Regions from separate parts of the Homo sapiens genome. Here regions 1, 2, 3, 4, 6 and 7 are each linked to region 5. Evidence: promoter capture Hi-C in human tissues and cell types (Jung and others, 2019). All regions are on one chromosome and are shown on one strand. The core of a region is centred on a gene start or on the middle of the fragment in contact, and the rest is flanking DNA. Distances in the headings are between cores, read along the strand shown. Region 1 has its middle 120 kb from the start of MIR802. Region 2 has its middle 30 kb from the start of MIR802. Region 3 has its middle 98 kb from the start of LINC01436. Region 4 has its middle 110 kb from the start of MIR802. Region 5 holds the start of CLIC6 (chloride intracellular channel 6). Region 6 has its middle 12 kb from the start of MIR802. Region 7 has its middle 120 kb from the start of LINC01436.

Region 1 (3,621 bases), core at 105-2,604, 1.2 Mb after region 5:
GTTGACTTTGAGTGTCAACCCCTCTTCTGCTGAAAAGGAAACCCACGTGGTTTGGCATTTGACTAGAATAACTGGGCTGCCCCAGCTGTGTCTGTAAGGTGTTTCCAGAGGAGACTGGCATTTGAGTCCACGGACTGAGAGGGAAGACCCCCTTGGTGTGGTGGGCACCATCTGATCAGCTGGGGACTCTGACAGAACGGGAGGCAGAGGAAGGGCAAATTTGAGCTTTCTTCCAAAGCCAGGACATCCTTCTTCTCCCACCCATGGACATCACAACTGCAGGTTCCCCAGCCTTAGGACTCTAGGACTCGCACCAGTGTCCCCCAGTCTCTTAGGCCTTCATCCTGGAATTGAGAGTTACAACATTGGCTTCCTTGCTTCTGAGACCAAGGAACTTGAACTGAGCCATGTCACTGGCTTGCCTGGTTCCCCAGCTTGCAGATGGCCTATCATGGGACTCTGTAACCTCCATGATCAAGTGAGCCAATTCCCCTAATAAATCCCCTCTTATATCTCTCTATGGACAGATAGGTAGATAGATAATTGATATATATTAGATAGATAGATAATGATAGGATAAATAAGATAGGCAGATAGGCAGACAGATAGAATAGATAGATAAATTGATAGATGGATGGATATGTAGACGGATGGATGGATGGATGGCTGGATAGATGCACCACAGCCAGCTGTGGGCTGCTACTTGTTTGAGTTGGCAGGAGTCTATCATCCTCCAGGATCTGTCTGGTTTCTCCCGGGACCAAATTAATTAAATGGTGATATGAGAGGGGCCATATTCCTGTATCCTATAGGTCTTTAAGGATCGTTCTAAGCTTCAAGATCCAAAAGATAGATTGATGGAGAGAGAGAGAGAGAGAGAGATGAATGGATGGATAAAGACAGATCAGATAGATAGATAGATAGATAGATAGATAGATAGATAGATCCATCCATCTTCTAGAGAACTCTGACTAAAACCAATACTTGTGAGAATCCTGTATAAAATGTAGCTAGTGATCTTGGACAACCCTCTAAAGTAAGAAGGTCATGAGCCTTCTCTGCAAACAGGTTTTGACAGTGAGAAGGGAAAGAAAATAGTGACACCTGGACTCCTGGGAAGGAAAAGAAAATTCGTTTTTAGCAATGAGGTTGCTAAAAGAAGCAACTAGAAAACAAGCTACTCCAACTTCAGATCTTTGCTTGGTAAAGCCTCTACTTTCAGGTGAGTGGGGTGAGTTTTCTGATGAGAATCAAGAAGGCCGGCCTCTCTCTCTGGGAAGCTCCCAGCTTCATGGTCCTGTGGCAGAAGAAACCCAAGTCTGGAAGAATCCAGGGCCTCATCTGAGCCTTTCTCTCCAGCATTAGAAGGAAATCCACAATTGGCTGACAAGCCCGCATTCCAAACACACACCCAGTTAATGAAAACCACACACACACAAACGAGAGATAGGTTCTACCTGCCTGTGACAATCTGGAGTAGGAAAAGCACATGAAAAATAGCCTTGGGACTTTATTCTGAATACTCTGCACCTAAGGAGGAATTGAGTTTCTCAAAAATAAAGGCTTTCTGTTTACAAACATGCTGTTTTTGCCAAAGAGAATTCTTTATTTTAGGTGCTTTGGGAAAACTGCAGAGTCCTCGGGTTTGTGGCCAAAGACGCCCAAATGTTGCAATCCTAAACCTTTGGCAGCGACAAAAACATGTTGGCAAGTGGAAAGTTTTCAGCATGGGGCTTTTCATGTTGTTTTGTTTGGGTGTGTGTTTGTTTATTTGCTTGGTGCCAAAGGGTTTCCTCCACATCTTCCCAGAACCAGAGAGCATGTTGGCGCTCCACTTGGGATGTTGGCCCCAAACCACCTGCACTCCTATTGTACATCCTGTATGGTTTCAGGCCCCCAAAAACAGCCTTTGAGCTCAGGGAGACACCTCTTTCCCACCTCCAAACCCTAAGTGAAGCCTCGGACAATGAGAGGGGATGACATGAAGCATTTGGCCTCCATGGCTGTGGACTTCATGAGGGCTGAGGGCATTTCTGAATTTCAGTCTCTGATCAACCCACAGTTCTGTTGTTCCCTCTGTCTCGCCCTAGCAGGCCTCATTTCTATCTCTTTCCATCTCCCCGGCTGCTACCTGTGCTGCGGTAGCCACTTGATACATGAACTATGGCTTCCCGCCCGTTAAAACTAGACATTCAAAGACCAGCCCAGCAGAATGTGGGCACAAAGAGCATGGAATTCCCAGATAGATCTTTACATTGTAACAGAGCAGGGATGATCATCTTGAAAATCAAGGCTTTTGATTAACAAGACTTGGGTATTTTGTAACTCAGGAGGCTAAGCCTTGCCCTGGGATCTAAAGTTCTAGCCCTGAGAGAATAGAGGAGGGTCCAAGTGCCCCGCCCAGACCCTGAACAGGCCAAAAAGGGAGGAAATGCTGGGGAGAGGACCTAAGCTGGATGCAGGACCAAGAGGGTCAGCATGGAGAGAGCCAGTCAGCGCTCAACCCTGTCTGTCACCACCTGCAGATGGGGAGCTGAGAGGGAACAGAACTTGCACCCCCATTCAGTCCTGTGGATGGTCCAGGTAGCCAAGATGGCCCCTTGAGCTCAGAGCTGTTGGAGTCTCGCCTGCTAACAGTGCTGCATGAGGCCCATCCACCACTATGTGTGTGTGTCCCATCAGCACCTCACACTCAGGAAACCCACAACTGAGGGCCACTGCCTCTCTCCCCTTCTCCCCCACCTCCCCCTACTCCAACCCAGGCCCCCTTCCTAACTGGCTTTTCATGAGAGCTGCACCTTTTGAGTCATCGAAGATTCTTTGCATCGGCTTTGCAGTCTCTGTCCCCTCTGAGGCTCACTGATGGTCAGATGCTGAGCCTGGCACCTTTTCCATCCACCAATGGTGCCACTGCCTGGCTCAAGTATCTAATTTTATGTCTGTAAATGAAAACAATTTAACATTCCCCTAATTGATACCTCACCCTCAGTCTCCCCACACGAAACCTCATAACCTCCTCTCCTTGTTTCTACTCTGGCTCCTGTTTCTGTCTGCTCGCCTTTTCCCTCTCTAGTTTTCCTCCTTCTTTCCCATTTTCATATGTGTCGCCAGCCCCATGTAGTGCCAGACAGGCTACATTTTTTCAGTGTCTCAAATGCAAGGGTGATAGTCTCACTCCTTCAAGCCTTCACAGATGTTGTTCTCTCTGCCTAGAACACGTTAACCCCTTTCTCCCTTTTCTCCTTCTCATCTTTCAGATGTCCTGGGTGCCACTCCCTCCAGGAAGGCCATCATGCTTTCACCAATGGGTAGCAGAAGCACTGATTCCCATGGGCTGAAACTATAAGGAAACATATTCATGTCATTTAACAGGAGCCCAGAGGCAGTGTGGGCATCAGTGGTGCTGCACCATCGTCAAGGACCCTGTCTCTTTCCCTCGTTTGTCATCCCCAGTGCTGGCTTCATCTTCAAGCTGTAGTAAGATGTCTGCCCCAGTTCTAGACACCACATTCAGACACTATGCTATCTGGAGGGTGAAGGGAGTTTCTCTTTCTGTACCTGCCGTCAGGCATGAGAAGACATTTCCAAGTCAACGCCTCTTTCCTCCCCCTAACCAGAACT
Region 2 (3,742 bases), core at 425-2,924, 1.0 Mb after region 5:
ATCAGGAGAGGCCTTTCCCATACATCTCATCTACTCGCCCTGTCCCTTCAGGCCCCAGGGCACTAACAGATTTCACTGATGCTCCCCACTGGGTACACCACTGCCTTGATTCCTTTACCCCTTGACCTCTGAAATAGCTTCTTCAATGAACTCCTGGAATGGGTCATCTCTTTCCTGCCAGGAATCTGCTGGGGAAACCCTCCTATGTGACTTCCCATTCCATGAGCCTCACTGCAGAAGCCACGCACATATGTGGCGAGACAGTAGCTCTTTGTGCTATGGTCCATGGACAAGCAGATCTTTACCATGGTCAGTATTAACCCCCAAATCCCTTCCCAGAGTTCCCCCAGAGAAAGAAAAACTAACAGCATAGTTTAAGAAATTGGCTTACGCAATTGTGGGGGCTGGCAAATCTAAAATCTATAAGGCAAGCCAACAGGCTGAGGTAAGAGTCGATTTTGCAGTCTTGAGTTCAAATGCTAGAAACTCAGGCAGAATTTCAACGTTGCAGTCGAAGAAGAAATTCTGTCTCCATTCAGGGAATCTTGGTCTTTGTTCTTATGAACAAAGACATGTTATAGAAGGAAATGTGCTTTACCTAAAGTCAATTGATGTAAATGTTAATTATATCTAAAATATACCTTCACAGCAACATCTGGAGTAGTGTTTGACCAAACAACTGTCCTCTAGCCAGCTGACGCATAAAATTAACGATCACATCCATCCACCACATGGATTCAGTTTCCTTTGGGGCAAGGAGGTTTCTCTTTACTTCAAAAGCTATAAGGGCTCAGAACTCACTTATGTCCTCTGATACAGTTTGTATTCACTTGTGTTCTCTGATACAGGAGTAAGGAAAAGAAATGCCTAATTAAACAACAAAAATAACCACCTTCCTACCACCAAAGGAAACCATCCAAAAAGCCATCAGAGCCTGCACAGAGTATGACCCTGTCTTTTTCCTTTTTTTTTTTTTTTTTTATTGACACTGATTGGCTTGTGCTTGAAACTGCCCAAGAAATTTAGAAATATAGGCAATAGAATTAGAAGGAGTTTGAACTGTGACCCCAGAGATCAAACCCTGACAACTCGGTATGTTAAACTGTATTAAAATGTATGGCTTTGAAGGAAGGGATCAATATGTTTTTCTCTGTTTGTGAAGGGCCTGCACTAAATGATAGTGAGAAACAAGCAGCCCCAGAACACAGATGCAGCCGAAGGATTTCCATGGCTTGTGCTAACTCAACTTGGCTATCTTGATGCAAAGGGAAAATGTGAAGGGCTTCCAGAAAGAACAGCTGAGATATTTGCTCACTGGTTTATTTGCAAACCAAGAAAGCAGTTTTTAGTTGCGTATGACTTTAACAACCACATCACTGCCTCTTTGGGCCTGACCCAAGACACTATTTTAACTTACAGTGAAATATGACTGAAACCCAGCTTCTCAGCCTGTGTTCTATGGGAGATCCAGTAGGAGGCTGAAGGGTTTTGCAATGACTGTTGTCCTCTGCTTGCTGCCACAACCCCCATCAAGACTCCTCTCCCCAAGGTACACCCTTCCTCCCCCACCCCTTCAGAACTAAGGGAGGCAACAACTTCCCAAAAGTTCATGGCTGCATTTCCATCCCTTCGTATGAAACCTAATCAACAGTTCTATAGATAATTTTTGGGATAAACACAGAAATTGATCGTTCTGGTCTTAAAGCTGGAAACTTACATTTGTTTTATCTGAGTTCCTTCTTCAGAAAATGACCTTCAGGCCTCTCAAAGAAGTATCAAAGGGCCAGGCACGGTGGCTCATGCCTGTAACCTCAGCACTTTCAGAGGCCAAAGCAGATGGATCACTTGAGGCCAGGAGTTCAAGACCAGCCTGGCCAACATGGCGAAACCCTGTCTCTACTGAAAATATAAAAATTAGCCAGGCGTGGTGGCGCATGCCTGTAATCCCAACTACTCTGGAGGCTGAGGCATGAGAATGCCTTGAGCCTGGGAGGCAGAGGTTGCTGTGAGCTGAGATCGCAACATTGTATTTGTCTGGGTAACAAAGCGAGACTCTGCCTCCAAAAAAAAAAAAAAAAAAAGTATCAAAGAACTGAAACTCAGCAGATCACCACATCCAGACAATGAGATGTGGGGGCCCTCATTCATCATGATTGCTTCCTTGCCCCTCCCTAGTTTCTATTTTCTTACACATTGTTTGGTTTCTTTCATTTCTTCTATGCTACATAAATCCCTAGCTTTAGTCCCTCAGGGAGATGAATTTGAGACTGAGCTCCCATCTCCTCAGCTGCAGCACCTGATTAAAGCTTTCTTTCTTGGCAATACTTGTCATCTCTGTGATTGGCTTTCTGTGCAGTGAGCAGCAGGACCTAGACCAAACCCCTTGTATTTCAGTAACATTTACAACCAACAGATGAGGAACCACATGCCAAAAATGTAAAACCATTGAAGTCCTGGGGGAAAAAATCAGTGCCACTAATCCCAGAAATCTTTGTACCATCTCCCAACAAGAATTATTCTTTAAAACGAGTTCACAGAGGAGTTATGGGGTGGCTTTTTCACAATGTCCTCTGCAAATCACGATGTCATTTCCTTTTCACTTGCTCTTGTTCCTGCCTGCATTATTTTCTTTCTTTCTTTCTTTCTTTCGTTTTTTAAGACTGCTTTCTGCCTCTGTGGTCATCTTCCTTTTTTTTTTTTACCATTCTTTTATCAGTTTTCATTCATTATGATCTTAAGAAGCCTCAGTGTGGGCTGTAGTCTCTCTCTCTCTCTCTCTCTCTCTCCAGAAAAGCATGCTTTCTTAATGGAAAAGTCTATTCAAATGCAGAGGACCTCTTTACCACGTGCATCTGTTGCAAAATCACCAACTGGAGTATCCAATTATATTAAAAGGAATTCCACGGAACTATTATCCTAATAGATGGAACACTCCTCCAATAATCATCCACACGAGCCGAAGACCCAGATTCTCTCATCCATGCACCAAAACAAAGGACTTTTTTAATAAGAAGCAAACATAAGGGAGCTGCGAGACATATTAAATGCAAGTGGTTTGCTTTTGTGCTGTAATTCCTTAGATAAATAGAGCTCAAAACTTACTTCCGGAACTCCAGAGCTTTCCTTCCTCTGTGTAAGTTTTTCTTTTGTTATTAAGATGGCTTTGCATGGTTTCAGCTTGCACAGTCATTTTCATGGTTTCACACCACCAGGCAAAGTGAGGACAGCCCATACCTACAGTGTTGGAGCTACCATGAGAACAAGATGGACTTTTCTTTCTTCCCTTTGTGAAATCTCTGCAACTACTTGCTAGAAAGGAGCCAACAGGAAAGAGATGTTGGAAATACAGGGAGAAATGCTGAAGAGCACTTTGGAACAGGTACTTTCCCTTCTCTTCATGCAGAGAAGCCATCCACTGGACATGGCCGGATGATAGCTCTTATGGAAATCCCCATCACTGGCAAGGGCGTGGCTACTGGGTCCAGGTGCCTTAGATGCAGCCAGCAGGATGCACAGATTAATATTTTTCTTTCCCAAAGAGAGGACTGGGGCTTTGATAAGGGATTTCTCCAGCGATACACAGCTGGTAAGGACAGTCAGTAGCTGGCACACCTCTCTCAAGACCTGACAGTAGTGTGAGTTAGGGACCCCCCTCTGCCCCGGATGTCAGTCATTTTTGGGTTGCAGCTTACCCACTCCACACTGACATGCTTGGTTTATTCTCTGCCTGCCCATCCAGGCT
Region 3 (3,946 bases), core at 1,402-3,901, 1.2 Mb after region 5:
AGACCTGGGTGCAAAGCAGGACTGAAAGGGCCAAAAGAGTGAGTCATTGCAGCCCAGAGCACTGGGCCAGAACTCCTCAGCCCCTTCCACGAGCAGGGCAGAGACGGCCTGGGCAGTAGCATGTTTGGCTCAAAGACTCCCAGCAGAAGAGGACGGCAAAGGCTGAGAATCAGGCAGGAGTCAAAGAAGGGGTGCTTTAAGGTAAGGGGAAGGCTTAAACAGAAAAAGCAGAAGGAAGGGTAAGAAAGAGTTCAGAGACAGGGTCATAAGCATTTTGTAAGGCTAAGGCCAAGGAAGAAGTGGGAAGGCATAAAATACCCAGCGAATACTTGGCCTTGCTCTCCTCAGATCTAACCAGTTGCAGACCTAGAGCTACTCTAGAATAATTGTTAATTGAATGTGATGCACCCTGAAAGGCACCCAATCAGAAGATTTGAGATTGATCTGCTGTGTGAGGGCCAAGGAAGAATTTCTCGATTGCGAGGACTGACAAACACCCACGCAAGTCCCTACAAGAGGTTATGAACATTTTCTTCTTTCGAAATTACTTTTTCGCCGTGCAGATTTTCATACTCTGAGATACTTGGTGAGTATGGTTCTAACCGAAGGCAAAGCAACAAGTTCAATAACCCCACAGGGAACTCAGCAGCCCCGCTCCTTGTCTTCCAAAGCTGTCCAGCTCCTCCTCCCAGTGGCTGGTTTTCAGTTTTGCAACTCTTGAAATTCAGATTGATAACTTGGGCACCCTTTTAGTGGAGATGGCTGAAAAAGTAGATTTCTTCTTAGCCAAACAAAGGCTTCAAAAGCATCTCTTACAATTTTAAGCTTTTCAAATGGCTTCAAAATTCACAAGTACCCATAACAACTTTTTAAAACTTTGTGACTTTAGATCGACACCCAGAAAATTGTACGCTGGGTTTTCCCTTAAGGAGAGAACATTTTGGATTTGCTTTTGTTAGTTTCAAATGAATGACCTCATCATTGGATTAATACCTAAACCAAAAGGATGAATGGCTTGTGCTACTTCAGCTGGGGAGTCCAGGAACCTGGAGGATGCTGCGGAGCCATTCAGAGGGATCTTGGCATGTAGCATGTTCTCAAAACTTTGAAGCAGCAATGACAATGAGAAGAAGGAGGAGGCAGAGGAAGCAGTAGAGGCTCTAATGAAATTCATTGCCTGAATATTAAAAGCATTCAATAATGGGCTCAAATCAATCCATTGATGGTGCATCCAAAAACAGCTATAAAGGAAAGCTAGGGATATTTGTGCTATGTCATCATATTTTGAAGGTTAACACTATGAATAACAGCCTACCCTTCTTTACTAAATATGTTGGTGCCACTTAGAATCCTGAGAATCTTAGGGGTATTTTTCAACTGAAATGGGTATTTTTAACTAGAAACTCAAGTGGTCTGTGGCCACAAATTGAGAAGACCTGGCCTAGTGAACCATGTTGGCAAACATTCTGCCTATGCCTATGAAATAATAGATGCTCAAGGCATCATTTCACATCATAATAGCAGAAATCTAGTTCTTCCAGGGCTAAAGCAGAAGGAGGTAAGGGTCTGATGCTCTGACTTGAGACACAGCCACAGAGAGAATGATTCACATGTGTGTATCTTAAATCAGTACTCACTGCCCCCATGCAACTCTTGACCTGTCTTCTGTCAAGGTTAAGAGCACTAATGAGGCCAGGCAGTGGCTCATGCCTATAATCCCAGCACTTTGGGAGACTAAGGCAGGCAGATTACCTGAAGCCAGGAGTTCAAGACCAGCCTGGCCAACATGGTGAAACCCCATCTCTACTAAAAATACAAAAATTAGCTGGGCATGGTGGTGGGCACCTGTAATCCCAGCTACTTGGGAGGCTGAGACATGAGAATTGCTTGAACCTGGGAGGCGGAGGTTGCAGTTAGCTGAGATCGCACCACTGCACTCCAGCCTGAGGACAGAGTGAGACTCCATCTCAAAAAAAAAAAAAAAAAAAAAAAAGCACTAACAAGTGACAGAAAGGCAGGCTGGCTGTCTCCTTTCCTAAATAAAAATAGATCCATGTGCTTTGGATTTCTCAAACACAGATGTATAGTTAGCTTTTAAATTTTTTAAATGTTCTGAATTTAAGAACCTGACTTTCTCTGTCTGTGGGAGTATCAACTGCAGATACAGAATGCACTCAGATCTCACTTTGGATTTACTCAGGTCCCAGTAATGAGCTCCTGTGCAATGCCCAGGGCTATGCTCTGAAGATGCAGGAAGGGAAGATCTTAAACTACATGATTTTGGAAGGCAAATGTAGATACCCACCAATCTCTACTACAATGCTGCTTTATGTGGTCCCCAAGAACCTCTGACTTGATGAGTACTGATGGGCCCCCAAAATAAACTCGGGGCTAATGTCGAGCAGGAAACAAAGTGCATTAACCTGTTGGGTAAAATTAATTAATAATTATCTCTCTCAACACGAAAGAAGCCCTGCTAGGAATTTTTATTTCACTAATTTTTTGGAGACAGAGGCTTACTCTGTCACCCAGGCTGGAGTGCAGTGGCATGATCTCAGCTCACTGCAGCTCCCAGGTTCAAGTGACTCTCGTGCCTTAGCCTCCGAAGTAGGTGGGATTACAGGCACCCACCACCACACTCAGTTAATTTTTGTATTTTTAGTGAAGATGGGTTTTCACCATGTTGGCCAGGCTGGTCTCGAACTCCTGACCACAAGTGATCTGCCTGCCTCGGCTTCCTAAAGTGTTAGGATTACAGGCATGAGCCACTGTGCCCAGTACTGCTAGGAATTATCTTGGCTGTCTTTCTGACATTCATTTGTTGTGAGACAGAGGCTCACTTGTCCAAACCCAAAGAATGGACTCAGAGACCTGGAAAACAGCAAAAGCGAGACTTTTAATGACAGTCTTGCAAGATCGAGTGTCTGATGGGAAGGCACACCCAGCACAGTTACAACAAGCAGTTTATCCCCTAGTGTGCAGGTCCCTCCCCCAGTTCCTCATAGGCTGAGAACTATGGGGTCACAATCTTCCCAGACGTCGCCTATTGGTTGTTGGGTTGGGGCTTTAGGTGGTTTCTTTAAGGTTGTCTTGCTGCATTTTGTTGCAGCCCACAATGCATTACAATCCTAGTCAGCTCAGGGGCTCTTTAAGTATCTGACTTATGTCCTAAGTAGCTGGGCAGCTCATAAGAACAGACAAAGCAAGCTATTTTGCAGGCTAGTAAACTTTCATCTTAGACTAAACTTTTTTGGATTAGGTGAAGGCAACTAAGGGACGGGGGTGGGGTGCCAACAAGCAGGCATCAGCTATCCAAGCAGGGGCCTAGTATATCCTGTTTTTTTCTGTAGTTTGCTGACCTAAGCCAATTTAAGTCACTTTGTCTTAGAAATGGACCACTATATACATTATTTCCTTCATTTGTGAGGAAAGATTATTATTACAAATAGAAATTGCTAATATTTATTGACCACTGACCTTCTGCACTGCACCAATCTTACATATATTAACTCACTTAAATTCTCAACAATCTAGTGAGGGTTTACTATTTTGCATCCTAGATAATTAAGGGACACAGAAGTTAAATTCCTTGCTCAAAATCTTATAGGTGACAGAACAAAGATTGAAACCCGAGCACTCTGGATCCTGGGCATAAACTCTTAACCACCCCTCTCATTTCCTCTGAAAAATTAACAGATTCACTCATAGTGGGCCTACTTCTATTTTTAAGTGTAAACATTTTTGTCCTCAGATATTTTGACCCTCATAAGTTAACCATGCTAGGATTTTCTTGTTTTGTCTTTCAGAGCAAGGACACAGGCTCATCCAATGTTTTAGTACACTGCTACCTAAAATCAAAGAAATAAGATCTTATTTGTTCTAACAAAAGACCTGCTTCACAATAGAAATAAAAATGGTCTCTTTGTTCATTTACTGAACAAACCCA
Region 4 (3,871 bases), core at 940-3,439, 1.2 Mb after region 5:
ACACACCTTAATAAACTCTCCTCTCTATATACATCTATCCTATTAGTTCTGTCCCTCTAGAGAACCCTGACTAATATGCTGTCCTAACACATCATGTGCTGATTATTCCTCGTTTTAAAAAATTGGAGAACAAAATGATCAGATGCTGATCTTCATTTTGAAAACCTCTTTTGAATGTGCTGCCTCCCTGGTATGATCTGGATGCTTGCCAGGGTGGTCTGGAGACCTCAGTCTGTTTGCTCTCCCGGGAAAAATCATGGTCACCCACTGACTTCCTCTTTTCTCACAAATAGAGGACAAGGTAGTTCTTCTGTTGTAGGTTTCATCGGGAATTTATTAATCCCCCTCCCGGAGGTGTTAGCATTTCAGTCTTGTGCCCAGCCATCTTGCAGTATTGAGAGTGGAATACAGGGTAAGTCATATCCTCAACAGTCCTTGCCAAGAACACCAAAATCTTAGCCTGTGGGTAATAATCTAAGTCTTCTTAATCTAAGTCAAAATTACCCTTTCCATCTAAACATAATACCAGCCTCTCTAAAAAAGGGCAAGCTGACCCGGTGTGGTGGCTCACGCCTGTAATCCCAGCACTTCGGAAGGCCGAGGTGGGCAGATCACCTGAGGCCAGGAGTTCAAGACCAGCCTGGCCAATATGGTGAAACCCTGTCTCTACTGAAAATACAAAAAATTAGACAGGCATGGTGGCAGGCGCCTGTAATCCCAGCTACTCAGGAGGCTGAGGCAAGAGAATTGCTTGAACCTGGAGGTGGAGGTTGCAGTAAGCCAAGATCATGCCACTGCACTCCAGCCTGGGAACAGGAGCGAAACTCCGTCTCATAGAAGAAAAAAAAAGCAAGTTTTGTCCCATCAGGGGCTGACGCAGACACAGGGACCAAAGCCCAGCCACCTCCTGGGACTCTCTGCTGTCAAACAGGAAGGTACAGATCTTTCTCCACCCATGCTCTGTGATGCCAAACTCTATTATAAAACATTTACTGGAGAAGGGTATCAAACGGGAATTTATTTCTATCACAAACAGCACTCAAATATTTCCCAGATAGTTTCTGCAATCAGTCATGTGCACCTTTTCAAAGTTTTAAATGTTTCCAAACTTTTTGGAAATGTATAGTGATTGATACAGGCCTTTAAGTTTAGTATTACTGCTCATGCCACATTTTCACCTGATTTCCAGTCTTTTGTGGTATTCTTGATTGGTAAGTCATTTGATTTTATCTTTTATTAAGGGCCTTTGAATTTAGCACAATGCTGAAATGATTCATCAATCATAATAAAAGACTTCAAAGGGATCCAAGCTAAACTTCAGGATTCTGAGGAGCATACTGGACAGTGAACTTATTGTATTTCAACTTCAGGACAATAAGCCTGGTGGAGGATTTTGCTCTAAAGACATAATGAGTATGTTAGTCACATCTAAAAATCATCTGCTGTCCGCATGTTCAGATTCATATATATGTGTATATATATAAATATAATATACACACATATGTGTGTGTGCATTTCATCTGACATTCATTTATTCTGTAGCAAGATATGTTTTAGGCTATTCTTTTCTACTGATCCATTCCCTGAGCATCAGAGGTCACTGTAAATGAAAAACAAGGTGAACTCCCTTGGGTGGGAGCCATGCTTGGCCAAATCCAGAGAAACTGTGTGGTGCTTAATTCCAGCTTAGTCTACATAGGCCCTAGTTTGAAACATAAAGTTGAAATCCATCAAGCAATTGTTTTCAAATCAACATTTCGGAAACATTTTTCAGTCATACTTACATGAATTCAAAATGTTTTCAAAGTATTGAGTGTTTTGCTGTATTACATTTGTAAAAAGGCAAAAGATAATCAGTGTGTGTTGATAATGTTAATAGAGATTTTAGAAATGATGATAGTGAAGTTTAAAAAAGGAACACCAACCAAACATAAAGAACTCTCTTTTCAAAATATCAATTTAAAATACAGGATCTCCCATGGCTTACAATGGACTCAGTAGTGAGGCACACAAACAGCAGTAAAACACATCTCTAAGGCATCCAGAAGAAAATAGATAACTAAATATCCATAATGCTGGCCAGACTGTGATACATAGCAAAATAGAAGTATTTATTCTGTAGCAAGAGATGGAGGCTGCAAAGGAAAATGCACTCTGTTCTCACTAGGGGAATCTGGAGGCTCTATACATGGTAGTTTTAATTTTTTTTTTTTTTAAACACCAGGCTGGAGTGCAGCGGTGCTATCATGGCTCACTGCAGCCTCGACCTCCAGGGCTCAAACGATTCTGTCATCTCAGCCTCCCAAGTAGCTGAGATTACAGGCGCCCACCACCACACCTGGTTAGTTTTTGTATTTTAGCAGAGTTGGGGTTTTGCCATGCTGCCCAGGCTGGTCTCCAACTCCTGGGCTCAGGTGACCCATCCATATTTGATTGTATCTTTTATTGAGGGCCTTTGAATTCAGCACAATGCTGAAATGACTCATCAATCATAAAAAAAGACTTTAAAGGGAACCAAGGTAAACTTCAGGATTCTGAAGAGCATATGGGACAGTTTCTTGTATTAGACTCCATCTCCAGCCTCCCGAAGTGTTGGGATTACAGGCATGAGCCACCATGCCTGGCCGGTAGTTCCATTTAAATTAGCTCATAAAAGGTAGGTAAGATTTCAACAACCAGGGAAGAAGACCTCAGTCAAGAACAATATGGCCATAGACTAAAGGCGTGAGACTGGATGGCACAGCTCTGAGGCAGGGTGTCTGGGGACTGAGAGCACCTGTTGCTAAGGTGATAAATTAAGATCAGATTGTAAATAGCTCCAAATGCCATGCTAAAGTGAACATTTCTCTGCAGGACACGGGTCCGGAGAAGGTTTTGAACAAAGCACTTTAGACAGATGAATCTGAGGGTAACCCTAAAGACAACATGGAAGCTGGAGAAAGAGGAGGAAAGATTCTCTAAGAGATAAATGCACTGGCTTACACAAAAAGCAGGTGGGCTTACACCTGGAAGGTAATGATGGAAACAAAAAAGAATAACCAAAATTCAGTAGTATGTCAATATCTGGTAACTGACACCATCTGGAATGAGGGGAAATGATTCAAGACTTTCCAACTGGGACAGGTGGAGAGAGAGGGGTGTAATCTAGGAAGATGGAAAATGCAAGAGCAAATCAGATTCTGAAAACAATTAAGTAATTCCTGATTCCTTTCAAATAAAAGGTGAGGCCTGATGTGAGTCTTAAAGTCTTAAAGTTCACTGGTTAAAGGGAAAACAGTGGGGGAGGGAAGCACAGTCCAGCAGGATGCAAACAGGTGAGCAAAGCCACAGGTTAGAACATGGAAGCTGTCGAGGAAGGCAAGAAAAGGGGAAGGAGGCATAAAGCTGGGCCACGTGCCAGGACCAGTGAGAGGGTGACCATGAAAAATCAGTAACAAGATCGGTGACCACTTAGACGTAGAGGATAGAGGTGTGGGGGCAGGGTGGACTGAGAAAGTCTCTCAGGTTTCAAGCTTAAGTGACTCCAGGGCTTTTGTGCCCACATTTAAAACGGAGAATAGATGTGAACAATCAAGGAAAAATGACTGATGCTGAGTTTAAGGCACCTGGGAGACGGGGGATAATTGCTTCCCAGAGACAGAGGTGCAGCGCCAAACCTGGGGAAAGGAAGACCCAGTTTAAAGATAAAAGGGTTGTTACCCTTTAGACAGCAAATAAAAACACGTGTGTAGCTGGTATCACTTTGAAAAGGGAAGAAGGAAAGCCCACAGATCTCTCTACAGACAAGACAACCAACGACTAAAAACCATTTAGATTAAAAGAAAAGAAATAATCTTACAGTAATGTTGTAAAGAGGTATTAACATCAAAAG
Region 5 (3,626 bases), core at 1,118-3,617:
AATGTTATTTTGAGAGCCAATGTTAATGTGAGTAAATGACCCCAAACCCTATAAAAGAATAAATCCAAACCCTATAAGATCAAATAGCCTTGTGTGATCCACAGGATCAGTTTCCAGGACAGAATAGACTTTATTAGCATTGTTTTTCTGCAAGGACATTATTCAGGCCAGTTCTCAGCCACTCAGCCAACAGCTTTGTTTCCGACTGTGCCAAGTCTGCAAACAGTAGCTGATCATCTTTAGCTCAATTCAAAAGGAGGTTTTTCTAGATATTCCAACCACACCCCCCCCCAATAGCCAGCACATTTCTATCAAGTTTGATTGAGTTAGAGTTTATGAAATATTTCCTGAATGACTGAATACACACGTGCCTTCAAATACATATGCACCAACCTGAACTAGTTTTGGAAAATACTTTCCTCAGTTAGTTTTATACTTTGGGGGGTAAGCTAATGTCACAAGACACTCTATTGACAGAAATTCTTATCTACTGACTTTGCTAAAAGAATTTGCTAAATATTATTACTCGCATGAGTGTCTTTAATTTGGTTCTTTGTAAACATTGAGCATTGAAGACGGTTTGTTATTAAGGACAAAGTTATGTATCTAACTAATCTCACATTTTTCTAAGCAGCGCAAATAAACCCAGAGCCCTTCAATGGTTCACAGGTCCACAATCCTTTTATACACATTCTGAAATCCTAAAAGGCTCTGAATACTGAAAGCTGTTTTGGGAACTCATCTAGAATCAGAACCAGAAAGGCTTGAACTCAGCTGGAGGTGAACCTAAACTGGGGGTGGGGGGCCTGAAGCTTGTATGATTTTACCATATCTCACCAAATGTGATGCCTGTCTTACTGCAGAAATATTAATGTGTTTGATCACAAAGTGATGTTCTGTGTTATGTAATATACAGTAAAATCACTCAATCATCTTTCTAACAATTCTGTTTTCTGAAACACATCCGGGCTCATGGGATTTGCATAAAGCACTGTAAACCTGTACTGTGTTTGCTGTTCCGGGCTGAACGTGCTGGCTTCATCTTTCTTTACAAGATAAGGGTGATGGCTGCTACCTTGCCCCGGTGAATGCAGCAGGATTCCTTTTCTAGGTGCCTAGAGCTTTTACGGCTCACGTGCATCTCTGGCTCACCTGTGTGAGTGTCATGCTTTGACTAGATGCCACTTTGTGGTGATGAAGCTTCTGGCCTGTACCTACCCAGACAGAGCACAGCCTTGGAGAAAGGTAGCATGAAGCTGAGTGTCTCTGGGCTCCTGTCCTGTCATCCATCAGTGATGAGCAATGGGAAGTAGAAGGAGACACATTATGTTCATGGCCAAAGGTGTGACCCCAAGCCACATCAAAGGCACACCCAGCTCTTTCAACGAAAACAACCTTCTGTGGGCATGAGGGGCTCATGTATCTTAGGCCAATATCAAAGCCATATAAAGCCTGATGAATCAAGTCAGTCTTGAGCTGGGATCCCCGTTCCACCACATTTACATAGTGCCACCTTGGGTAACCCAGTTTCTTGGTAACCCACTAGAAGTAGCCTGGCTTATAATAAACTTACGACATACTTTTCACCATAATAACTTCCTTTTTAAAGTAGGTATTGGGTCTGTGATCCTGGGAGAACCCTAACCCAGGGAATTCCATAGCTCCCCTCTTTCACATCTTGGATTTTCTTTTCTCCACCTCCAGATTCCCAAGCTCTTAACTTGGAGGCAGAAGCACTGGTGGTGAGTTTAGAAATCTAGGAGAATCAGCAAGATACACAGACTCTTACAGTCTTAAGAGACCCGGGAGATGAAGGTGTAACCTTTTTCCAGCGCAGGGCTCCCACGATCCTCCAGACAGGCCCGGAGAAGCGGACCCTCATGGACAACAGCGCCCATCTCTGGTCAGAGAAACTCGACTGGCTCCTTGTGCGTCTATATGAGGGGCCTCTGGAACCTCTCCGGGGGCCCTGCAGACATGGGAAGGCGGCCAGCGTAGCCTCCCCAGCTTCTTCTCTCAGGGATTTACACCCTTGCTCTTGGACATCAGGCACAATGTGGACATCTTCAGTTGGGTACCGGGGGAGCTTGATGCTTCACTCCTGGGGTAAGGTGGGGATTAGGTGTTTGGGTGTCGGGGTGTGTGTTTGGAGGGGGTGATTTAAGTGACTCTGGAACTTGAAGCCATTCTAGAGAACAACACCCAAGCGGCCAGGAGAACCAGAATCTTTTCATCAACATCCACAAGGGTCACGAGAAAGGCTGTCATTGGCCAAGCTCCTAGGCTACCCAAACAAAGGAGGGAGGAGGGGAAGACAAACCCCGCCCAAGCCCCAGGGGATGGAGTTGGCACCAAGGACTTCTGGTCAACCCCAGGACAGCGGACAGCGGGCCGGGCACTTCCAAAGGCGCAGGAGCGAAGCAGCCCTCTCCAGCCGTGCACTGCACCTCCGCGGCCCGCGGGCGAGATTGGGGTCCCGGTGGGAAGCAGACGCGCAATCGGGGAGAAGCTCCAGCAGTGGAGGAAGAGTCCAGGGAGTTTCAGCTGGGCAGAAGGGGCGCAGAGGCTTGGGGCCAAGCGGAGTTTGCCCTGCGGGTCCTGCGCAAGGCCCCAGTGCCCCGGCTAAACCTTTGCCGCAGGATCCCGGAGCCGGCGTCCTTCAAGGAGCACAGAGGGCCCCGTAGCACGCCCCTTGCCCAGCGCCACCGACCCTTAAGCAGCGTCAAGGAAGGAGTCCCGATCAAGGACAGGGATCTGCGGCCATGGCCGAGGCCGCGGAGCCGGAGGGGGTTGCCCCGGGTCCCCAGGGGCCGCCGGAGGTCCCCGCGCCTCTGGCTGAGAGACCCGGAGAGCCAGGAGCCGCGGGCGGGGAGGCAGAAGGGCCGGAGGGGAGCGAGGGCGCAGAGGAGGCGCCGAGGGGCGCCGCCGCTGTGAAGGAGGCAGGAGGCGGCGGGCCAGACAGGGGCCCGGAGGCCGAGGCGCGGGGCACGAGGGGGGCGCACGGCGAGACTGAGGCCGAGGAGGGAGCCCCGGAGGGTGCCGAGGTGCCCCAAGGAGGGGAGGAGACAAGCGGCGCGCAGCAGGTGGAGGGGGCGAGCCCGGGACGCGGCGCGCAGGGCGAGCCCCGCGGGGAGGCTCAGAGGGAGCCCGAGGACTCTGCGGCCCCCGAGAGGCAGGAGGAGGCGGAGCAGAGGCCTGAGGTCCCGGAAGGTAGCGCGTCCGGGGAGGCGGGGGACAGCGTAGACGCGGAGGGCCCGCTGGGGGACAACATAGAAGCGGAGGGCCCGGCGGGCGACAGCGTAGAGGCGGAGGGCCGGGTGGGGGACAGCGTAGACGCGGAAGGTCCGGCGGGGGACAGCGTAGACGCGGAGGGCCCGCTGGGGGACAACATACAAGCCGAGGGCCCGGCGGGGGACAGCGTAGACGCGGAGGGCCGGGTGGGGGACAGCGTAGACGCGGAAGGTCCGGCGGGGGACAGCGTAGACGCGGAGGGCCGGGTGGGGGACAGCGTAGAGGCGGGGGACCCGGCGGGGGACGGCGTAGAAGCGGGGGTCCCGGCGGGGGACAGCGTAGAAGCCGAAGGCCCGGCGGGGGACAGCATGGACGCCGAGGGTCCGGCAGGAAGG
Region 6 (4,152 bases), core at 1,059-3,558, 1.0 Mb after region 5:
AAAAGCTGACTGTAGCTTTGATTTAGTTGCAATTAGGAATTAGTATCTTCTTCTTCACTACCAATTTCTCCCAGTTAATGGAATATGAATGGTAATTCCAGAATCTTTTATCTCCTTTCTGACTACCATAGCCCCTATTCAAATCTTCAGCATCTCACATCTAGATGACTGCAGAAGTAGCCTACTGGTCTTCTCTGCTTAGAGTCACATTCCAATTCAGCTCCCACCTTGCATTATTCTAATATACACCCTTGATCATATTGTGTCTCGATCAAAAGCTTCAATGGTCAAGTACTGAACATTGCTTATATATCACTGACATTGCTAGTATTCCTGCTATAACAAGTTCTCCCTTATTCAGAATCCATTTAAAATGTAGTGCAAAACACACACAAAGTGACAGTAACCTAAGTGCCCACCAATAAGGAATTGTTAAATAAATTCTAGTACATCCATGACATGAGATAATAGCATGTCGTCCATCATATGGAATAATAGGAAGTCATTTGAAAGAACGAGATGATGGCAGCCGGGCACAGTAGTTCATGCCTGTAATCCCAGCACTTTGGGAGACCAAGGTGGGCAGATCACGAGGTCGGCAGATTGAGACCATTCTGGCTAACCCGGTGAAACCCTGTCTCTACTAAAAATACAAAAAATTAGCCTGGTGTGGTGGCGGGTGCCTGTAGTCCCAGCTACTTGGGAGGCTGAGGCAGGAGGATCTTTTGAACCTGGGAGGTGGAGGTTGCAGTGAGCTGAGATCGTGCCACTGCACTCCAGCCTGGGTGACAGAGCAAAACTCCATTTCAAAAAAAAAAAAAGAATGAGATGATGGCATACAAATAAATCTACCACATATATTCTTTGTTTTTATGTTTTATAGGCAAACAAACATTTAGGAAGAACACACATCAAACAGTTATAAACCGTAGCCACCTGAGGAGTGAGATTAAGGGGAAAAGAGGGCTTCTGTGTTTATTTTGTGATTGTTTTGTAAGCGTCTGTGTTCTTAAAATATGTTACAGCATACGCAGGTATTATTTTTAAATATCTAAAGCCAATAAAGGTTTATAAACGCATTTGTCATCTAAGAGCTTCATTTAGAAATTATCACTATATTTTTATTTGAGGTACATTAACATATGTGTATGTATAAACCTAAGATTTAATAATATAATGTACTCACTAGACTGTGTTCATTAAAGGCAGAGTTGGTATAGTCAATTTGCTTTTTTATTTTCCCAGAATGTGTCTCAGAATTTATATAGTGCCTGGCATATTAGAAGAGACGTGTGTGTGTGTGTGTGTGTGTGTGTGTGTGTGTGTGTGTGAGTGAGATTTGCTACAAATTTCTCTAACTTCATAGAATATGATGGAACATGTACTGTGATTCTAGAATCATTTCTCTATTGCTATACACAAACCATATATATGACAGTTTTGCATATTTGCAAATGCAAATATATACACAACCAAATGGGAGAATGATCTGCATATTGTCATTGTGCTGACAAACCTGTCTTGATCACTGCTACGGTGACTCCAAATCACTGAGTGCTTCGAAAAGGACAAGAGGAATTCCATACGGAATAGGCAATTAGGTTTTGGAACAATGTGCACAGGCTGGTGTTAACTGGTTCCCGTGAGTCAGGGCCATTCCATTTTGGGGATTAAACACATCAGCAGAATGCCCCTTTCTCTGCAGCTGACAAGGGGGAGTTCCACCCCATACACTGAGGGAGAGGGTCCCCAGAATCTTCCGGGGAGTGAGGAAACAAATTCCAACCCCCAAACAACCTGATTGGAAAGGGAGTGTTTTTATATACACATGTCTCCGAAATCCGGCCAGCAAATGATAAACATCAGCTGGTGTTTAGCTAAATGTTAAAAATCTTATTGAGGCAAAAGCAATGCTAGAAAGGAACAACAACGAAAAAAGCCAGCTCAGCCTCTGCCCCACGGCCTCGATTTCTCTCCCAAATCCCAGGTAGCTGAGAGGTGGAAAGTCTAGAAACAGAATCGAACACGTCTAATCTCTTTTACAACAATGTTCTTATTTTAACCCATGTCATCAGGGGAAATGGCTGAAAATAGTGACAAATACAACATCAATAAACATAATAATAATTGATTTCCCAGAGATGAAAAATTTGAAATTATTGGCCATTTCCCCCTAGAGCATTGGTTGATTAATTTAATGTTCATCTTAGTCTTTCAAAGACATCCTCTTATGTTGATCTGCTTTGCCAGACTTTGTGATGGGTTTTGCGGTTTAGGGCCCAGTGGTTAAAGTATATTGCACAGTTCTGCAGTTTTAAAGAGAATTCTGATAGTTTAAGGATGACTGCAGCCAACAACAGCAACAACAAAAGTTAAGACACATCAAGCAATTAAATTTCCAGAGATTGGAACTGGAGTTTTTCATACAGGATATAAGTTCAGTGGCTGTACTACTCAGTTTTTCTAGCTTAAGTATCCAAGAAACAGATTTTGAGAGGTACAACCTCTATTCCCCCAGAGCACCCAACTTTCACTTAATTCAGAATCTCAACACAGAGCAAGGTGAATTTCAAGTAACTATTTTCCTTCCTCTCTCCCTTCTTTCTTTCCCTTTTCCCCTTCCTTTCTTTCTTACTCATGTTTCTCCCCTACCCTCTCTCTTCCTCATTTCCTTCTTCCTTTCTTTCTTCCTTCTCATCTTTAAACCACTTCAAAGTTTGATGTTTGTATTTATCCTGAGAGACAAGTGAAATAAGCATTATTATCCTTTTTTTACAGATAAATGAAGTGAGACACAGAGGTTCAGTGACTTTCTCAGACTTTCTTGTGACTGAATAAACAGCCCAGGGAAAGAAGTTTTGAACCTCCTGAGTTCCAGGTTAGCACTTTTTCTTTTCATTTTTTATTATACTTTAAGTTCTGGGGTACATATGCAGAATGTGCAGTTTATTACAGGTACACACGTGCCATGGTGGTTCACTGCACCCATCAACCCGTCACCTACATTAGGAATTTCTCCTAATGCAATCCCTCCCCTAGCCCCCCACCCCCCAACACACCCCAGTGTGTGATGTTCCCCTCCCTGTGTCCATGGGTTCTCATTGTTCAATTTCCACTTATGCATAAGAATATGTGGTGTTTGGTTTTCTGTTTTTGTGTTAGTTTGCTGAGAATGAGGGTTTCCGGTTTCATCCATGTCCCTGCAAAGGACATGAACTCATCCTTTTTTATGGCTGCATGGTATTCCATGGTGGATATGTGCCACATTTTCTTTATCTAGTCTATCATTGATGGACACTTGGGTTGGTTCCAAGTCTTTCGTTAGTACTTTTTCTACAAGTAGCTGGTCCCAGAGCATGTCAGGGAGAACTCCAGCCAATCCCATCAATCACAGCTCCGTCCATCAACCCTGTGAGCACAGACTGACTCTTGCATGGAGTCAGCATCTGGGTGTGCAGAGGCACCTTCACTTCTTGTCCCTTCCCAAATGCCACATCACTAGAAGTATCTACTTTATCATTTTGAACATGTAAGAGTAAACCTGCTTCCACATTCTTAGGAACTAGGAATGCATCAGACCTCTTTATCAGACCTCATCTGCACAGGTGAGCCTAAACCCCTTGTTTTGGAAATGTTTGATATGGCTCCTGGCACTGGGTGCCTGGTCCCTTCCCTTTAGGGTTTCCCTTACTTTTCCTGGGACCATTGCTATGCAGTGTAATTTCTCCTGTCTTCAGCCCCTAAGACACTCGGCCTAGTATCCTTGTCCCCATAAGTCTACCGGAGGATGGTGATTTCCACTGTCTCAAATGCATGCACTTTGACCTCACACTCATTTTTCTGCACCATCTCAGGGTCCCTACCATTGTACCCAGGAGGTATAAAAAACCTTCTGTGAAGACATATGTAGCCTTCAATTAAAGCATTTGTAATTATTTCCCAGGACAGTTATTCATCTACAAACTCATCGTCAGTGGATTTACCTAAGGAAAGCAAACAACAAGAGGTAAATCAGGGACTTTCATGAATGCAAACAGTCTTCCCTGTGACATCTTGCACAGAATAACTCTCCCTAAACAAGGGTCAAGGTGAGATGGCAGCACTGTTAAGTCATTAAAGGCCAAGCTTCCTAGGTCATGTCAGTATCACGCA
Region 7 (4,074 bases), core at 34-2,533, 1.2 Mb after region 5:
GGAGGGTGCTAAAAGAAAATGTGATGTAAGCTGCATGCCTTTTGCAAGCAGTTGCAGTTATAATGCTCAGCCTGCCCCCACTAGGCCATGCAGTTCTCCTGTCTAGCCTGCTACCACTGGACTCTCTCCCCTGCACGTAAGTCCCCAGTAAAACCCATGTCTCATTTGCTGGCTCTGGGTCTCTTCTTCAGCCTCTTGCATCTAGTACCACACCCACTGGAGTCGATACGGATTCGACACAACACATGCATACAGAGATTTAAGTCCCACCATGTATAATTCTATCTTATAGCAGTTTCAAGAAGTCTGTACCCCAGGAGCATTGAAGGGGGATCAAATCTTACTAATCGTAGGAAATAGCTTCATCTAAAGAAGAATTTCCCAATTGTTGGAGCTTTTCTTAAAAGGCATGGGCTGCTGACAAAGTAATGTGCTCCCTGTTGCTCAATGCATTCAAGCAACTGGATGCATTCAAGATGGGCTGGATGACCATCTGCCTGGAAGGTCAAAGAGATTTTTACCTTAGTAGGAAGTTGGTGGGAGGACTTTTAAGGAGGCTTCCAATCATGACAGATTGTGATCTTTTGGGTAAAGAACTAAGACTTCACCTGGGTTTGAACCCCATCTCTGCCCCTTACCAGCTGGGTGACCTGGGCAAAGCATTTAACCTCGCTGTCCCAGCTTCTTCCATAGTGAAATGGGGACATGTATCAGTGTCTACCTCATAGGGTGATTGTGAGGATGAAACGAGTTGTTCCATATCAAGGGTCATGGACATTATCAATGTTGAATAAATGTTGGTCACTGTTCTTATGATGGCGTTGTTATTATGGATTGTGACTCCCCATCTTTCATTTAAGGAGATGCCACTTAAATGGGCTCCACAACACAACATTCCTGCAAGCACAGACCAGGCACAAGATACCTGGTATCCTTCTGACAGCTCTTTTTTTTCCTGTATCAAAATGAAGCATAAGATGAATGGGAAAAAGATGAGACACAGACTTTAAAAATCAATATCCTTATAACTATTCTTCAAATATAATCACCAATTATATTAATTATATTAATACTTATACAGAAGTGTAAGTCTCATCTATCTTATTAGATAGAATTCCAATGTGAATCCACCTTCAACCCTTTGAACAGCACTTCTGGTGAGGGAGGGTGGAAATTCACACAGGGGACCCTTCCTGCGTTTCCACCCTGGCTCCCAGATGCCGCATTTTTCAGAGAAGTTTGCCTTGAACTTCCATGCACCTCCTCCTACCCCCTGCAAATTTACACACAGAGCACCTTTGTGAGCCGAAGACTGGGCACGGACAGAGCACAGAGAGGGCTTGTCAAAGTAAACGAGTTGATTCATGTGTAAAAATCCCCCGACTGCGTTTACAGATTAAATTGGAAAAACTTTCAGCTGCTTTTGGTTGAAAATTCCACTCAAATATTTCATTGGATGCCTGTGCCTTCGGCACATGGAGTTCCAGTGCTTGCACAATAGTCTGCACGTGCAAACACAAAGCTCGGTGGTCTGTGAGTGGCATGTGGCTTCAAAAGGTCTGTGTCATCTGATGGCCAATGGTTTCCTGCATATTTGCTGTATAAGCACATCCCTGTCCACGGATGTGCTGAATTAATGATAAGCCCACAAAGTTTAACAAGGTTCAGGTGGAGGGCTCTCGAATTTTTGAACTTCACAGCACTAGATGCTTGAATGAATCTAGCAACAGTAAATTCATTACTTTGTTGGCAGCTTGTGCCTCTTAATAAAGAGCTCCACTGATTAGGAAGAGACAGCTGTAGATCTGCATTGTTCCATGTAACAGCCACCAACCACTGTGGCCTTTGAACATTTAAAATGTGGCTAATCCAAACCAAGATGTGCTGTACAGGACCTGAACTCAGCTCTGGGTCAAGCAGACCCGACAGGTATGTACAGAACTCTCCACCCAAAACAACAGAATATACATTCTTCTCATTGCCACATGGCACTTACTCTAAAATTGATCACATAATCAGAAGTAAAACACTCCTCAGCAAATGCAAACAGAACTAAAATCATAATAGTCTCTCAGATCACAGTGCAATCAAATTAGAACTCAAGATGAAGAAATTCACTCAAAACCACATAACTACATGGAAACTGAACAACCTGCTCCTGAATGACTCCTGGGTAAATAATCAAAGTAAGGCAGAAATCAAGAAGTTCTTGAAAACCAGCACAAGACAAGTTCTGGCCAGGGCAATCAGGCAAAAGAAAGAAATAAGAAGTATTAAAATAGAAAAAGAAGAAGTCAAATTATCTTTGTTTGCAGATGACATGATCTTATATCTAGAAAACCCCATTACCTCAGCCCAAAAGCTTCTTAAGCTGATAAGCAACCTCAGCAAAGTTTCAGGATACAAAATCAATATGCAAAAATCACTAGCATTCTTATACATCAACAACAGGCAAACAGAGAGCCAAATCAGGAATGAACTCCTATTCACAATTGCTACGAATAGAATAAAATACCTAAGAATACAGCTAACAAGGGAAGTGAACCACCTCTTCAAAGACAACTACAAACCACTGCTCAAGGAAATCAGAGAGGACACAAACAAATGGAAAAACATTCCATGCTCATGGATAGGAAGAATCAAGATTGTGAAAATGGCCATACTGCCCAAAGTAATTCAATGCTAGTCCCATTAAACTACCACTGACATTCTCTGCAGAATTAGAAGAAACTATTTTAAAATTCAGATGAAACCAAAAAAGAGCCTGAATAGCCAAGACAATTCTAAGCAAAAACAACAAAGCTGAAGGCATCATGCTACCCAACTTCAAATTATACTACAGTAACCAAAACAGTATAGTACTGGTAGAAACACAGACACATAGACCAATGGAACAGAACTGAGAACTCAGAAATAAGATTGCACACCTACAACCATCTGCCCTTCAACAAACCTGACAGAAACAAGCAATGGGGAAAGGATTCCGTTTAATAAACGGTGCTGGGAGAACTGGCTAGCCATCTGCAGAAAGTTGAAACTGGACTCCTTCTTTACACCACATACAAAAATTAACTCAAGATAGATTAAAGACTTCAATGTAAAACGCCAAACTATGGAAAAACCCTAGAAGAAAATCTAGTCAATACCATTCAGGACATAGGCATGGGCAAAAATTTCATGATGAAAATGCCAAAAACAATTGCACCAAAGCAAAAATTGTCAAATGGGATCTAATTAAACTAAAGAGCTTCTGCACAGCAAAACAAACTATCATCAGTGTAAACAGAAAACCTACAGAATGGGAGAACCATTTTGCAATCCATCCCTCTGACAAAAGTCTAATATCCATGGTCTACAAGGAACTTAAACAAATTTACAAGAAAAAAATACTAAAAAGTGGGCAAAGGACATGAACAGACACTTCTCCGGAGAAGACATACATGTGGCCAAAAAGTGTATGAAAAAAGGCTCAACATCACTGATCAACAGAGAAATGCAAATCAAAACCACAATGAGATACCATCTCATACCAGTCAGAATGGTGATTATTAAAAAGTCTAAAAACAACAGATGCTGGTGAGGTTGTGGAGAAATAGGAATGCTTTCACACTATTGGTGCGAATGCAAATTAGTTCAACCATTGTGGAAGACAGTGTGGCGATTCCTCAAAGATCTGGAGGCAGAAATACCATTGGACCCAGCAGTCTCATTACTGAGTATATACCCAAAGGAATAGAAATCATTCTATTTTAAAAATACACACAAATATATGTTCACTGTGGCACTATTCACAATAGCAAGACATGGAACCAACCCAAATGCCCATCAATGATAAACTGGATATAGAAAATGTGGTACATATACACCATGTATATAATAATGATAAACTGGATAAAGTAATGATAAACTGGATAAAGTAATGATAAACTGGATAAAGAAAATGTGGTACATATACACCATGGAATATACTATGCAGTATATATATACTATGCGGTATATATATATATCATAAAAAGGATCATGCCCTTTGAAGGGACATGGATGGAGCTGGAAGCCATAATTCTAAGTGAAGTA

Evidence for each region. Contacts are between HindIII fragments. The study calls those that stand out against the background at their distance.
Region 1: a fragment that was not itself captured here is called in contact with the fragment with the promoter of CLIC6 in region 5 in 2 of the 25 tissues and cell types used here (H1 embryonic stem cells and lymphoblastoid cells).
Region 2: a contact is called between a fragment that was not itself captured here and the fragment with the promoter of CLIC6 in region 5, in 1 of the 25 tissues and cell types used here (dorsolateral prefrontal cortex).
Region 3: a fragment that was not itself captured here is called in contact with the fragment with the promoter of CLIC6 in region 5 in 1 of the 25 tissues and cell types used here (dorsolateral prefrontal cortex).
Region 4: a fragment that was not itself captured here is called in contact with the fragment with the promoter of CLIC6 in region 5 in 1 of the 25 tissues and cell types used here (dorsolateral prefrontal cortex).
Region 6: a contact is called between a fragment that was not itself captured here and the fragment with the promoter of CLIC6 in region 5, in 1 of the 25 tissues and cell types used here (spleen).
Region 7: a fragment that was not itself captured here is called in contact with the fragment with the promoter of CLIC6 in region 5 in 1 of the 25 tissues and cell types used here (dorsolateral prefrontal cortex).

The regions. Positions count from the first base shown.
Region 1 is chr21:35,842,735-35,846,355 of GRCh38, forward strand. No RefSeq gene overlaps it. Among named protein-coding and RNA genes, the nearest start is that of MIR802, 120 kb to the left of the region's middle. The HindIII fragment of the contact is 5,825 bases long and covers 1-3,621 here.
Region 2 is chr21:35,689,333-35,693,074 of GRCh38, forward strand. No RefSeq gene overlaps it. Among named protein-coding and RNA genes, the nearest start is that of MIR802, 30 kb to the right of the region's middle. The HindIII fragment of the contact is 3,880 bases long and covers 1-3,614 here.
Region 3 is chr21:35,905,515-35,909,460 of GRCh38, forward strand. No RefSeq gene overlaps it. Among named protein-coding and RNA genes, the nearest start is that of LINC01436, 98 kb to the right of the region's middle. The HindIII fragment of the contact is 5,202 bases long and covers 51-3,946 here.
Region 4 is chr21:35,825,883-35,829,753 of GRCh38, forward strand. No RefSeq gene overlaps it. Among named protein-coding and RNA genes, the nearest start is that of MIR802, 110 kb to the left of the region's middle. The HindIII fragment of the contact is 5,199 bases long and covers 1-3,871 here.
Region 5 is chr21:34,666,627-34,670,252 of GRCh38, forward strand. It overlaps CLIC6 (chloride intracellular channel 6), which reads left to right and starts at 2,368. Exons shown (of 6, transcript NM_053277.3): 1 at 2,368-3,626. The coding sequence starts at 2,763. RefSeq lists a silencer at 2,661-3,100. The HindIII fragment of the contact is 4,429 bases long and covers 1,007-3,626 here.
Region 6 is chr21:35,706,961-35,711,112 of GRCh38, forward strand. No RefSeq gene overlaps it. Among named protein-coding and RNA genes, the nearest start is that of MIR802, 12 kb to the right of the region's middle. The HindIII fragment of the contact is 5,563 bases long and covers 1-4,152 here.
Region 7 is chr21:35,881,579-35,885,652 of GRCh38, forward strand. No RefSeq gene overlaps it. Among named protein-coding and RNA genes, the nearest start is that of LINC01436, 120 kb to the right of the region's middle. The HindIII fragment of the contact is 7,484 bases long and covers 1-4,074 here.